Regions from separate parts of the Homo sapiens genome. Here all the other regions are linked to region 1. The links are contacts of gene promoters, found by promoter capture Hi-C in blood cells and fetal thymus (Javierre and others, 2016). All regions are on one chromosome and are shown on one strand. Each heading gives the region's core, a stretch centred on a gene start or on the middle of the fragment in contact. The rest is flanking DNA. Distances are from core to core; before and after follow the strand shown. Region 1 holds the start of ITGB5 (integrin subunit beta 5). Region 2 holds the start of UMPS (uridine monophosphate synthetase). Region 3 has its middle 25 kb from the start of MIR544B.

Region 1 (4,887 bases), core at 1,461-3,960:
ACACCATCCTGGGCAACAAGAGTGAGACTCTGTCTCAAAAAAAAAGAAAAGAAAAGATAGGCAATGGGAAAACAGGACCCCAAAAGAGTTGCAAATGAACCACCATGCTCAGTGCTTTTCTCTTCCTTAAGCTGAGTCGGTAGGACAAAGGGCACTGGACCAAAAGCCATGGTCCCTGGTCCACCACTCCTGACCCAAGTAGAGGGGAAGGGCAAGTCACTTCCTTCCTGAGCCCATATGAGAAAATGGACATCACCGTGAAGATGTACGTGAACTCTGAAAAAGAGAAAGCAAGATGCAAGTGGAAAATAATGTATTTTTAGAAATTATTCGCAGCCAGGCGTGGTGGCTCATGCCTGTAATTGAAGCACTTTGGGAGGCCAAGGCAGTTAGATCACCTTAAGTGAGGAGTTCAAGACCAGCCCAGCCAACATGGTGAAACCCCATCTCTACTAAAAATACAAAAATTAGCCGGGCATGGTCGCAGCGCCTGTAATCATTGCTACTTGGGAGGCTAAGCCAGGAGAATTGCTTGAACCTGGGAGGTGGAGGTTGCAGTGAGCCGAGATGGCACCACTGCACTCCAGCCTGGGCTACAAGACTGAAACTCTGACTCAAAAAAAAAAAATTATTTGCAACTAGAAATTATTATTATAATTCTGTTTGTCAGAATTACAGAATGTCAAGCTGGAAAGGAACTTAAAAGCCATCTCCTTTGGCAGTTTCTGAACTTTTGGATTTCAAAGAAAACTAAGATTTAAAAACAAAACAAAAGAAACAAACAGAAAAAGAGAAGGGGAGCTTAACATAGGGTTGTCAGATTTTCTTATTTTGCCAAAATTAAAAACTACTAATATTATTAAGAAGTATTAAAAGAAAATGTTCCCACCAAAAAAAGAAAAAGTGCCTAATTTCAAACTAAAGGAAAGTCCTTGTGGAGCAGGGGAGCGTTGACAACAATACATTCCTGTGTGATGCAGGCTACATCTTCCTGCTCCTCGCTTTCCCTAGGGACCCATGAAAATATCCGTGATGGGCACTGGCTGCCGGATGGGTGTTTGGAATCCACTCATCTACTCTCCAAGCTCTGGAGTGATTATTTTCCCATTTAAAACAAAAACCAAAAACCTTGCTACAGTATTAAGTTTGAATTAGGGTCTGAACGAAGTTATTGTTTGCTCAGACCCCTCCTCCGCTCTTAAACCTAAACCTCCACTGCCTTCATGTAAATGAGACACCGTGGGGGAACAGTCCTCCCTTCGGGCAGCCAGGCAACCACTTGGCTCACAAGAGCAATCAAGTATCTCCGGCTTGAAAGTTAATAGAGCACTATTATTTCCTAAAAGAAAGGAGAAAATCCGCATCCCAAACAAGTGCATCCTTCCTCGAGGGCCTCCAAACTACCACGTCCAATCATCTCCCAACTCTGAAAAGTTAGAGCAGGTAACCGAGGGATCCTTGCAACGCTGCCAGCCCACCGCAGCGTCGGGCTAAGGCAATCTCCACAGCCCCTGTCCTCTGCTCCAGAATCCTCCACAGTTAGGGGAGTGTGAGGCTCCGAGCGTGTGCAAATCGCGGGATAAAGTCGGGCAGAAGGAATTTAATAGGGAAGTCCCAGGTGGGGCTGTGGTTTGGGACGCGGGTGCCCCCTCGGGTTTGCGGTGGCCTAGGCGAGGAGGAAGCAGGCGGGGGGCGGGGAGGGTGGGGGCTGCATCTTCAAAGGCAGGCGGCTAGCCTAGGCGCAGCGAACTCCAGGATTCGCTGTGGGCCCTGTGCACCCGCTGTTCCAGGAGGCGAGCCCTCCGGAGTGGAGGTGGCCCCGGGCTTTGGCTGGGGTTTCGAGACTCCCTTGCTTCTCCGGGAACAGGGCACCGACGGCATCCCCCCAGCAGCCCGCCCGCTCCCGGCCGGCCACAAGGACCGCTTTGTGCCCGCCAACGGAGAGCCCGGGCCCCAAGGCAGGGCTGGCGGCGGTCCTCCCCGTGCCCTGGGCGCGGGCCCTGGCGGGCTAGGTCAGCAGGCCGGCCAGCCTGTTTACACAGGAAGGGAAGCTCCTCCTCAGCCCGGGAGGGAACAGGAGACTCACGACAGCCCGGCGGGGCTGCGCGCGGGGAGCGCCCCGCGGGGCTGTCCCCCAGCGACTGGCCCACCAGGGAGTGCCCCGAAGGCGCCCTCCGCCCTCAGGCACCGCCTGCGCTCCCCGCCCCTCCGAGACGCCCGCCCGCGGCTGAGTGTGCGACAAAGTTTCTCTGGGCGCCGTGGGCGGCGCGGCTTACCTGCGAGCCGGGGCAGGAGCGCGCAGAGCCCCAGGAGGCAGGCGTACAGCGGCGCCGGGGCCCGCGGCATGGTGGGGCGCCTCCCTCAGCGGCGGCGCGGTCGCTGCACTCCGCGGGGGCCGGCGGCCGGGGCTGGGGCCGGAGCGCGGGGGCCGAGGGCCGGGGGCCGCAGCCGCATGCCCCGCGCGCAGCTCCGGCTCACGGCGCCCGCGCTGGCCCGCGCCCCGCCGCCACCATCCGTCCCGCAGCACTCACGGCCGAGTCCCGGGACCGCGGCTGCCCTGGCTGGCCGGCCGGGACTCCTAGTGTGTCGCCGCTCGGGACGGCCCCAGCGGGCTGCTCCGGGTAGGGGAGGGGCTGGCTCCGCTCGGCGGCCGCGACTTGGGCTCCGAGACGCGCCCAGCGCCGAGACTCCCCCGCGCGCCGGCACACTCTGCCCCTGGCCTCCGCCCCTTCCCTTCCTCCCTCCGGCCCGCCAGGCTCCACTTTCCTCCTCTCCTTTCTCCTCCCCTTCTCTCCCCTGCCAGGCCCTCGCCCGGCCGCCACACGGTCAGCTTACGGTGAGGCGGGGCGGGGCGAGCTCCGGGCCGGGCCAGCTCCGCCCTGTGCGGGGACCGGCCCGGGACGCGGAGGCCCTACGGGCCCAGGTGGAAGTCGCTTGCGACTCACTTGGGGCGTGGGGGGCTCGAAACCACTGAGTAGAGCCCGCTCCCGTTGCTTAGCCGCCCGTCGCCACGGGAAAGGGGCGGGGCACGCTGTATTAGGCGAGCCGAGATTACTTGGGCCAAAGGCGGTTGCTAGACTGCGAGAGGGAGAGCAGGTACGGGGGTCGTGCCGGTACCGCCTCATCCTCCCAAAGCCTCACTGCCGGCGGCCTGAGATGGGACGTAGACGCCCGCGCGTGGAACCGCAAAGCGACTTCTGGATGAGCAAGGGAGGGCGTGGTGGGGCGTGGAGGCACAAGTAAAACCTACATTTCTTTTTCTTTTCTTTTTTTTTTTTTTTTGAGACAGCGTCTTGCTCTCACTCAGGCTGGAGTGCACTGGCCCAGTCTTGGCTCACTGCAGCCTGGACCTCCTGGGCTCAAAGGTTCCTCCACCTTAGCCTCCTGAGTAACTGGGACTACAGGCGCGCGCCACCACACCCGGACAATTTTTACATGTTTTGTAGAGATGGGGGTCTCGCTGTGTTGCTCAGGTTAGTCTTGAACTCCTGGGCTCAAGCATTCCTCCTGTGTCTGCCTCCTAAAGTGCTGAGATTACAGGTGCGAGCCACCGTGCCCGGCCCACTTTTCACTTTTTAACTTTTGCACCTTTCAAGGATTTGAGACTGGCCAATATGCCGCTATATTTCGTTGTCCTTACTGATAATCTGTCAGTTTCCATGATCAAACTGATAGACTCAAAAACATATGCTCAGGCTTTCATCTTATCATTTACATATAAGCTGGATCTGAACTAGCCAATAAAGAGTGGGGTGGGGTCTTCCTCAGATGGTGCAGGAAAGGATGCCTTGGGCTTGGATTCGCTACAAGTGCGTTTAGAGTGGAGTGGTTGATAGGCAAGAGAAGAGGCGACATTCAGGTAGGGGAAAATAACGATAGAATACCTACCAAGTACAGAGAGCACACTGCCAGCCAGGCACTGTTCTAAGTCCTTTACCCATATTAACTCATTTCATCCTCCGACAACCCTACTGTTATCCAGTTGAGGAACCGAGGGACAGAGGGGTTAACTGCTGGAGGAAGTGACAGCTAGGATGCCTCGTTCAAAAGTGCAGCATGGCTTGGCTAAAACTGAAGCAGTAAGGGGGAAAGAACAAAGGGGTCTCACCTTTGCAGGCCAGGGACCTGGTGGAAGAATGGCTTGGAGGGCCCAGTGGAAAACTGTCCTAACTGCCCAGCTCAAGGAGTTTGGATGTTAACCTTTATTTCTTGGCCTCCTCCCAAACTCTAACAAGGTGGTGCCTCAATGCCTGAGGAAGTAAACTTCTTGAAGTACAATATAGTGTGCCTGGGGGCAAAGATGCAGCAGTCCATAGCAAGCTCCTTTATAGTATTTGTGAAAGGAAAATAAATCTCAGGGCCCCCAAATCACTAAGCCAGGAGAAAAATCAAGCTGGGAACCGTGTCAGGCAAACCTGCCTCCCATTTTATGCCTAATTAAGATAGCTAAGAAGCTACATACCTCCCTCACAATTTACCCACAGGAAATTCCTTTTGGACAAAGGACAGACAGAACTCAAAGTCATCCCTCTGAGGCTCACCTGAGACAAATGAATACCTGATTGCTCCCTCTGGCCTATTGTTTATGTAAAAATGCAGATTCACTGAGCCAGACTAAATTGTGTATTCAGTGGAAGGCTGATCAAGGACCCAAAAGAATGCAACCTTTTGTCTCTTATCTGCTTCTAACCTGGAAGCCCCCACTTCAAGTTGTCCTGCCTTACAAAACCAAACCAATGTACGTCTTACACATATTGATTGATGTCTCATGTCTCCCTAAAACGTATAAAAGCACACTGTAACCCCGACCACCTTGGGTACATATTGTCAGGACTTCCCGTCACTGGCACATCCTTAACCTTGGCAAAATAAACTTTCTAAATTGAC
Region 2 (4,887 bases), core at 1,488-3,987, 160 kb before region 1:
AGAGTCTCATCATGTTACCCAGGCTGGTCTCAAACTCCTGGGCTTCCCATCTCTGCCTCCCAAAGTGCTGGGATTGCAGGCATGAGCCACTGACCTGGCCCTAGAACATAACTTAAAATAAATGTGTATGTGTGTGTTTCAGTGTCTCTGTGTGTGTATAGTGTAGGTCAAACAATAATAAATAATTAAATAACAGTACCTCAGCCTATATTTTTTTGAAGGGGAGTGGTTCAGAGGAATCACCAATATAGTTATGGAATATTAGCAAAAGCCCTAATACAAATGATAATCAGAACCCCACAAGCTCAGTCTAAAATAGATATCAGAGTAGAATACAGAAGGGATTCAGTAAGCAATATAGAGCTAGGTCCATGAAAAGGCTCAGATTGAACTACTGCATGAAATTTTACATTCATGGAAACTCTTTAGGGTAAATACCTAAAATAGTAAGACTAAATATTGGTTAAAGCCAAGATCCTTTACCCAGCCTAAGTAAATGAAATGGAGAACACAAAATGAATTGGTACAATCTATGTTCCTCTGCTTTTTTTTTTGTTGTTGTTGTTGTTTGTTTGTTTGTTTGTTGTTGTTGAGACAGAGTCTCTGTTGCCCAGGCTGGAGTGTAGTGGCATGATCTTGGCTCACTGCAACCTCCACCCCCTCGGGGTTCAAGCAATTCTCCTGCCTCAGCCTCCCAAGTAGCTGGGACTATAGGCATGTGCTACTATGCCCGGCTAATTTTTGTATTTTTTGGTAGAGACGGGGTTTCATCATGTTGACTGGGCTGGTCTCGAACTCTCAACCTCAGGTGATCCACTTCCCTCGGCCTCCCAAAGTACTGGGATTACAGGCATGAGCCACCACACTCAGCTCTACCAACTTTTTATCAAGTGTTTTTGAGTGAACTATCTTATTGAATCTTCATAGTGATTTTTGGAGAAAGTTAATATTATTATCTTCATTCTTTTTTTTTTTTTTTGAGCGCAGTCTGGCTCTTTCGCCCAGCCTGGAGTGCAGTGATGCGATCTCGGCTCACTGCAAGCTTTGCCTCCCGGGTTCACACCATTCTCCTGCCTCAGCCTCCCGAGTAGCTGGGACTACAGGCGCCTACCACCATGCCCAGCTAATTTTTTTGTATTTTTAGTAGAGACGGGGTTTCACCATGTTAGCCAAGATGGTCTTGATCTCCTGACCTCGTGATCCGCCCGCCTCAGCCTCCCAAAGTGCTGGGATTACAGGCGTGAGCCACCGCGCCCGGCTTCTTCATTCTATTTTTGAGAAAATTGAGACTCATATAGCTCAAAATGCATTGCCAAAGATCACTCAGCCAGTAAGTAGAATGGGACTAAAATCCAAATGTTTTGGTTTGAAACTTCATGTTCTTTGTAGTGCACTATACAGCTATGCCTTATCTGTTCCTCTTTTTTAAAAAAGTATTTGTTATAGTTGACACATGATATCGTACACATTTATTGGGTACATAGTGCTATTTCAATACACACAATGTACAGTGATCAAATCAGAGTAATTCATATATTCCTCACCTTAAATATTTATCCTTTCTTTGTGTTGGGAACATTCAAACGCCCCTCTTCTAGCTATTTTAAAATATATAGTAAATTATTATTGACTACAGTCACCCTACAGTGCAATGGAACACTAGGACTTATTCCTCCTATCTAGCTGTAATTTGTGTCCTTTAACCACCCCCTACCCTTCCCAGCCTCTAGTGATTACTATTTTATTCTCTAGCTCCATGAGATCAACTTTTTTAGCTTCTGCATATGAGCGAGAACATTTGGTATTTATCTTCCTGTTCCTGGCTTGTTTCACTAACATAATGTCCTTCAGGTTCATCCACCTTGCTGCAAATGACAAGGTTTCATTCTTTATGTGAATTTAAGGGTTATTTTCCTTAAGCTAGAATAAAGTATTGCCTTATATACACAATGGAGAAGGGATTTATTTGTACAGATTATTTATTGATTATTTCTTTAAGGGATTTATTTGTAAAGACCAAATATGTTTGGATTTTCAGATTGTCTAGCAATATTATCCTCCTGGATAACCCTGATACCAATCAATTAACCGTCTTCTAACTCTCCTCCTTCCCTCCCTTACCTTTTCTACACCTATTACCTAAGCATTTGAGGTACGCCAAAGGAAATAAAAAAGTACTCCTCCAGGAAGCAGAGTACAGACAAAAGAGGTAATGAATACTGTAATGATCTAAGTGCTATATATTCCTATGTGCAAACTGCTATGGAACTGTCACGTACTAGATGCTATGAAGTTAATAAAAGAATTGAGTAAAGGTCCCTGTCTTTGATAACTTATATTCTATTTGGAGAAACATGGGGGGTAAATCTTGGCTAATAACTAGCAAATATAACATGTTAGGCCAAGGAGTAGAGATAATTAAGAGAACTAGTCGAGAAGGCATTGGCTATTAAAAAATGGACAGGATTTATGCAAACTCTCATGAAAGGTGGGACTTCATGATCCTACAGTCAATCTAGCTGTTCTGGGCTTTGAACCCCAGCGACCCCATCCAGAAGAAACCAGGAGAAGCACAAACTGGCGCTAGGTTCGCTACCATCCACCTGACCCTTGAGCCCGGGGAAACCCACGGGTGCAGCAAGCCGGGAAAGCTGCAGACGAGGCAGGCGGAAGAGGCGGGACTTCGCGGGTGACGTCATCGGGGCGCCGGAGGCCCGGGGCGCCTGGGAATTTGAAGCAAACAGGCAGCGCGCGACAATGGCGGTCGCTCGTGCAGCTTTGGGGCCATTGGTGACGGGTCTGTACGACGTGCAGGCTTTCAAGTTTGGGGACTTCGTGCTGAAGAGCGGGCTTTCCTCCCCCATCTACATCGATCTGCGGGGCATCGTGTCTCGACCGCGTCTTCTGAGTCAGGTGCTGGCCTAGGAAGGGAAAGGACAGGGCTTGGTGGCGGGAAGGAGGACAAGGAAATGGAAGAGGGTGACAGGAGTTGGGCCGTGAGTGAGAGCAAAAGAGCCAAGCAGGCAGACCGACCCTACTCTTGGTTTGGGGAGTAAGCATGAGAAGCACAGAGGCCAGGGGTTGGGCTCCTCGAGAGTCGTCTGTTCTTTCACCCACACGCTTAGACACGTGTTTTGCAAAAGTCGGGAAACCCAGTTTGGAACGCTTTCTGGCACTGAAGCACACTTGAATGAATTCTGTATATTTAACTCTTTAAGAAAATTAGACTTGCGGCCGGGCGTGGTGCCTCATGAGAGTAATACCAGCACTTTGGGATGCCTAAGTGGGCAGATCACCTGAGCCCCAGGAGTTCGAGACCAGCCTGGGCAACATGACGAGACCCCGTCTCTACAAAAAATTAGCTGGGTGTGGTGGCGCACGCCTGGGACGCTGAGGTGGGAGGATCACCTGAGCCTGGGAGGTCAAGGCTGCAATGAGCTGTCATTGCGCCACTGCACTCCAGCCTGGGCGACAAGTGAGACCCTGCCCTCAAAAAACAAACAAATAGACCGGGAAAACGTGGGTAGGCAGAGAATTCAGTAGCTGGGAAATTACTGGTGAGAAAAGGAAAATAGAACAACCAGAACTCTGTGATGTATACAAAATTTATCAGAGCCCAGAGAGACTTCAACCATACTCCCCTATGCAGCCCCGGGACAATTATTTAAAGGAATTTTGTCCCTGACTAGCTGCCTCTCCCATTATCTTAATGTACCTGGAATGTGTGATACAAAGAACAATGTATAGCTAATCAATCGCTTGTGTTATTATTTTATTTATTTATTTTTTAGATGGGATCTCTCTTACGTCACCCAGGCTGGAGTGCAGCTCTGTGATCATAGCTCACTGCAGCCTGGAACTCCTGGGCTTAAGAGATCTTCTTGCCTCGGGTGAGCACAGGGGCTCATGCCTGTAGTCCCAACTTTGGGAGGCTTTCTTTGGGAGGCTGAGGCGGGTGGATCACTTAAGGTCTGGAGTTCGAGACCAGCCTGGCCAACATGGTGAAACCCTGTCTCTACTGAAAATGCAAAAATTAGCTGGGCATGGTGGTGCACACCTGTAATCCCAGCTACTCAGGAGGCTGAGGCAGAAGAATCAGGAGGTTGCAGTTAGCCGAAATTGAGCCACTGCACTCCAGCCTGGGCAACAGAGGGAGACTGTCTCAGAAAAAAAAAAAAAAAAGAGATCCTCTTACCTCAACCTCTGAGTAGCTGGAACTACAGGCATGTGCCATCATGCCCACCAAATTAAAAATTTTTTTTTTTTGTAGAGAGGAGGTCTCACCATACTGCCCAGGCTCGTCTCAAACTCCTGGCCTCAAAAGATCCTCTTGCCTTGGCGGCTTCCCAAGTAGCTGGGACTACAAATGCCTGGTGCCACCCCCGGGCTACCTCCTGTTATTTCAATGCAAATTCTTGGTGAATATAGGAACTGCCCCTTCTTTTGCTTTAAAAATCCACTTGTAACTACTGTAATCGAAGCCTATAGTCAGGGCAACTACTCATATTAATTTTGCCTCAGCCTCTTCCTGTTAGGTCCACACTTGGAAGGGCTGTTTGGAAAGGGGAGTTGAATTTTGCACTGTGCGGCCAGAAGCAATAATTAAGACTAGAAGGTGGACATATTGGGAAAGCAGGTTTTTAGTCAATATAAGGAAAATTTTTGTACAAATTAGAGGTTTCTAATACAGTGCTTCTCAACTTTGAGTATATATGAATTACCTGGGAATTTTGTTAAAATGCAGAATCCATTTCTGTAGCTCTGAGACTAGACCTGAGGTTGTGCATTTCTAACAAAGTGCCAGCTGAAACTGCAGACCACACTGAGTAGAGGGCCGTAAATATGCTTTCCAATACAGTTTGCTACTAGCCACGTGTTACTATTGAG
Region 3 (4,887 bases), core at 1,667-4,166, 130 kb before region 1:
CTAACTTGTAAGCCTTGTCTGGTTTTAGGACAGGTAAAATGGGGGAATGGTAAGGAGAGTTTATAGGCTTTAAAAGGCCATGCCGTAGCAGGCGAGTGTTAACAGGCTTTAATCCTTTCAAAGCGTGCTGTGGGATGGGATATTGGCGTTGAGCGGGGTAAGGGTGATTAGGTTTTAATGAGATGGTAAGGGGCATGTGATCGGTTGCCAGGGAAGGAGTAGAGATGTCCTATACTTGTGGGTTAAGGTGGGGGGATATGAGAGGAAGACTCGAAGGAGGCTTTGGGTTGGGGAGAAGGGCGGCAATGAGATGTGGCTGTAGTCCAGGAATAGTCAGGGAAGCAGATAATTTGGTTAAAATATCTCGGCCTAATAAGGGAACTGGGCAGGTGGAGATAACTAAAAAAGAGTGCATAAAAGAGTGTTGTCTAAATTGGCACCAGAGTTGGGGAGTTTTAAGAGGTTTAGAAGCCTGGCTGTCAATACCCACAACAGTTATGGAGACAAGGGAAACAGGCCCTTGAAAAGAAGGTAATGTGGAGTGGGTAGCCTCCATATTGATTAAGAAGGGGACGGACTTACCCTCCACTGTGAGAGTTACCTAAAGCTCGGCGTCCGTGATGGTCTACGGGGCTTCTGAGGCAATCAGGCAGCATCAGTCTTCAGCCGGTAAGCCAAGAAGGAGTCAGTCAGAGAACCTTGGGCCAGAGTTCCAGAGGCTCTGGGAGTGGCTGCCAGGTGAGTTGAACAGTCCGATTTTCAGTGGGGTCCCACACAGATGGGACGCGGCTTAGGAGGAATCCCGGGCTGCGGGCATTCCTTGGCCCAGTGGCCAGATTTCTGGTACGTGTAGCAAGCTCCTGGGGGAGGAGGTTCTGGAGGAACGCCTGGCTGCTACGGTTCAGGCGTTTGGAAGTTCTTTTGTGCTGGAGATGTGGCTGGGGTTTGTCTCACAGTGGAGGCAAGGAATTGCAACTTTTTTCTGTTATTGCACACCTTGAAGATGAGGCTAATTAAGTCCTGTTGTGGGGTTTGAGGGCCGGAATTTAATTTTTGGAGTTTTATTTAATGTTGGGAGCAGATTGGGTAATACAATGTATATTGAGAATAAGGCGGCCTTTTGACCTTTTAGGGTCTAGGGCTGTAAAGCATCTCAGGGTTGCTGCCAAACGAGCCATGAACTGGGCTGGATTTTTATATTTGATGAAAAAGAGCCTAAACGCTGTCTGATTTGGGATAAAGAAAAAGGAGCATTAACCTTGACTATGCCTTCAGCTCCAGCCACCTTTTTAAGAGTAAATTGCTGGGCAGGTGGGGGAGGGCTAGTCACGGAATGAAACTGTAAGCCGGACCAGGTGTGAGGAGGGGAGGCGATAAAAAGATTATAGGGTGGAGGAGCGGAGGCTGAGGAAGAATTGGGGCCTAGCTTGGGCTGGCGAGGAGGGGAGAGGTCAGATGGGTCTGTAGAAAAGGAAGATTAGAAAGACTCAGCGACGCTTGGGGTTGGGACTGAGGGGACAGGCGGGAGGGAAAGAAGGAAGATTTGGGACGAGTTGCACTGGGCACAGAGACTAGGAAGGGACTGATGTGTAAAAGAATGCCTGGACGTCAGGCATCTCAGACCATATGCCCATTTTACGACAAGAACTATTTAGATCTTGTAGGATGGAAAAATTGAAAGTGCCATTTTCTGGCTATTTGGAACTACTGTCGAGTTTGTATTGGGGTCAAGCGGCATTGCAGAAGAAAATAAGGCATTTAGGTTTTAGGTCAGGTGTGAGTTGAAGAGGTTTTAAGGTTTTGAGAACACAGGCTAAGGGAGAAGAAGGAGGAATGGAAGGTGGAAGCTTACCTATAGTGAAGAGGCAAGCCCAGAGAAAAGAGTAGAGACACGGAGAAGGGGTGGGGGGTTCTTGCCCTCCAGAAGCAGAGAAGGGGTTGGGGCACGGAAATAAGGGATTGGGGCACAGAGATAAGAGGTCAGGGTGCAGAAATAAGGGATTGGGGCACAGAGATAAGAGGTTGGGGTGCGGAAATAAGCGATTGGGGGGTTCTTACCCCCTAGGAAAGCGGGACTTGCCGCTAAGGATGAAGGGGAAGGGGTTGAGGGGTACTTGCCCCTGCCCCAGAAAAGCGGGACTTGCCACTAAGGGTGAAGGACCAAGGCAGGCGTCCCTGCGTGGTCTGACACACTTGAAACGTGAGTGTATAATCAGAGAGCGTCCCTGCAGTGATTAAACACCAAGGGAAGGCTGCCTTCCCAGTCCATGACCGGTGCCGGAGTTTTGGGTCCACGGATAAAACCTGTCTCCTTTGTCTCTACCAGAAAATGAAAGGAATTGAAATTAAGAGAAGGGAGAGATTGAAGTGTGCCGCCAAGATTGAAAGGAGAAAGAGGTTGAGGGATAGTGAGGGAGGTTGGAGGAGAGAGTAAAAAGTGGCCGCTTAGCGGATTTGAAATTGGTGAGATGTTTCCTGGGCTGGTCGGTCTGAGGACCTGAGGTCGTAGGTGGATCTTTTTCACGGAGCAAAGAACAGGAGGACAGGGGATTGATCTCCCAAGGGAGGTCCCCCGATCCGAGTCACGGCACCAAATTTCACTCGAGTCCATGTGAAGAGACAACCAGACAGGCTTTGTGTGAGCAACATGGCTGTTTATTTCACTTGGGTGCAGGCGGGCTGAGTCCGAAAAGAGAGTCAGCGAAGGGAGATGCGGCCGTTTTATAGGATTTGGGAAGGTAATGGAAAATTACAGTCAAAGGGGGTTGTTCTCTGGTGGGCAGGGGCGGGGTTCACAAGGTGCTCAGTAGGGGAGCTTCTGAGCCAGGAGAAGGAAATTCACAGGGTTAATCACTCAGTTAAGATGGGGCAGGAACAAATTACAATGGTGGAATGTCATCAGTTAAGGCGGGGCAGGGCCTTTTCACTTCTTTTGTGATTCTTCAGTTACTTCAGGCCATCTGGGCGTATACGTGCAAGTCACAAGGGGATGCGATGGCTTGGCTTGGGCTCAGAGGCCTGACAGAAAGGAGTCTTTGAAGGATTGAACTTCTGTGCGAGGAAACATGACATTTGTGTCAGTTGTCATCTTCCTTCATTTAAAAAAATAGAACAGTTCCTGGGGTTTTTGTTAACGTGTGTTGTTCTGCATTGGCAGGCCTGTGCACACCTACCCCTCAAAGTCTGAGGAAGCTGAGAAGTCAAAGAGAGAGCCTGACAAACCCAGTTTCTCAGAAAGAAATATTTAATAGGGACTTAAGAACAGAAGCTATGTCTGTCTCTTGGGCAGTGGTGAGACAAGTTGTTGGATCCCTGAACCATTATCCCCTAAACCTAGGGCTACAGACCACAGGGAAGAGATGGATGTGAAAAGAAGGGGTGTGTAGGACAATGGCTTAAGGGCAGAACTTGTGGTAAATACAATAACATCAAGGTTGTTTAGTTAGTACCTACTCTTACACAAGGAACAATAGATAAACTGGAAATCTTAGAGAGCTTTCCAGAACAGGAATTAATCAGAAGTCAACATGGCAGATTCACTTCCAAGATGGAGTTGCCTTGGCCTCCACATGTGTGTACCAGAGACTGCTCATGTGATGAGGACAAAAGAGAAAGATTCAAGGAGGAAGGAGAGACATTTTATAATGTATCAGTCTGCTCTTAGAGCACTTCACTTTATTTCAGTAGAGATGTATGCCCCCAAGACAGAGACTCAGATGACTCCCCAATCATGCGGCAGAATTCTGGGATAAGAAGAGACAGACTTCTTCCAGGAGCAGGTGCAGGGCAGAGGACTCTAGAGAAGGGATTCTTGAGCTTGGGTCTCACCAACTGTCACTCAAGGTGTGACTGTTCTCAATCTCCCCTTTTGTAAAATGGGGAAATACCTTCCCTGAATGTGGTATTTGTGGGGTAGTTGTGAGGATCAAATGAGGAGTTTGCTTTCAGTCACAGGGATCTGATATTCTATGTGGGTGGGACCAATGAAGCTTTCAATGATGTGTCTTCCAGGGAGGGTGTTTTTGAAATCAAACTGAGATGATAACCCTGAGAAATAGGATTGGACTTTTTAGCATCTTCTTTGTTACACATTTATAGGCATTGTTCTAACAAGGGTGTCTGTAGCATTCACCAGAATGTCAAAGCAGCCCATGACCCAAAAGGGTCAGGAACTCCTACTGTAGCAGGTCAGTGAGGTGGCTGCCCCTGATGGGTTGCCCCTTGCTGTTTAGAGCTTGCCTTTTTCCACCAAGAATTCGAGGCATCTTAAAGTGAAGACGTTATGCAGCTGGGTATCTATCAGAAGGATCAGGACGTGTGGAGGGGGAAGGTAGGAAGAGGATGGGGGTTGTTAATGGAGGGGGCAGTGGGGTTGGGTTGAGAGGAAAAGGGGTGGCACTAAGAACCCGAGCCTCTTTTTCTCTTGTCCCCATGTTATGAACAGTCTCTGGTCCACTAAATGCATTCAGTTCCCAGCTTCCTAACCATCAAGATACCAAACCTATTATACAGGCCCCATTGTATGACAGAAGGAAGCATCAGTCATGGGGAGAGATGGACTTCCTGACATTCACATCCAAGAGAAAGAAATTGGATATGAAGGCCTTCTCACTGACACATCACCCAACCCGTCTTGGAGGTGGCTCTCGCAGATGGGGGGCTGGCCAGGCAGCGACTGTCTTTCCCTCCTTCCCATGGGTCCCTCCCAAAGCAGCAACTGAGCAGGCAGGGCCTCTGGGGGCTGAGAAGAACTGTTCCTCAGGCGCAGCCCCCTCACAGCTGTCTCTCCTATTCTTCTCCCTCCAGCTCTTATGTTTGCACCCCTGGAGGGTCTGAAGGCCTGAGTAGGAGCTGGGTCCTGACTATGAAGTCTGGAGCCCCAGAGCT

Evidence for each region. The method cuts DNA at HindIII sites, captures the fragments that hold promoters and counts their contacts. A CHiCAGO score of 5 or more calls a contact.
Region 2: a contact is called between the fragment with the promoter of UMPS here and the fragment with the promoter of ITGB5 in region 1, in 4 of 17 cell types (non-activated CD4 T cells, monocytes, naive CD8 T cells and 1 more). The highest score is 7.0, in non-activated CD4 T cells.
Region 3: a fragment that was not itself captured here is called in contact with the fragment with the promoter of ITGB5 in region 1 in 14 of 17 cell types (megakaryocytes, endothelial precursors, M2 macrophages and 11 more); the score reaches 12.9 in megakaryocytes.

The regions. Positions count from the first base shown.
Region 1 is chr3:124,884,655-124,889,541 of GRCh38, forward strand. It overlaps ITGB5 (integrin subunit beta 5), which reads right to left and starts at 2,711. Exons shown (of 15, transcript NM_002213.5): 1 at 2,277-2,711. The coding sequence starts at 2,346. RefSeq lists enhancers at 551-1,435, 3,204-4,086, 4,087-4,887 and silencers at 2,100-2,189, 2,650-3,089. The HindIII fragment of the contact is 6,734 bases long and covers 1-4,887 here.
Region 2 is chr3:124,727,715-124,732,601 of GRCh38, forward strand. It overlaps UMPS (uridine monophosphate synthetase), which reads left to right and starts at 2,738. Exons shown (of 6, transcript NM_000373.4): 1 at 2,738-2,913. The coding sequence starts at 2,758. MIR544B (microRNA 544b) reads left to right here and starts at 4,725; the gene lies at 4,725-4,802. RefSeq lists enhancers at 2,396-2,995, 2,408-2,817. The HindIII fragment of the contact is 5,140 bases long and covers 1,041-4,887 here.
Region 3 is chr3:124,755,160-124,760,046 of GRCh38, forward strand. No RefSeq gene overlaps it. Among named protein-coding and RNA genes, the nearest start is that of MIR544B, 25 kb to the left of the region's middle. RefSeq lists enhancers at 1,887-2,856, 4,407-4,887. The HindIII fragment of the contact is 2,142 bases long and covers 1,846-3,987 here.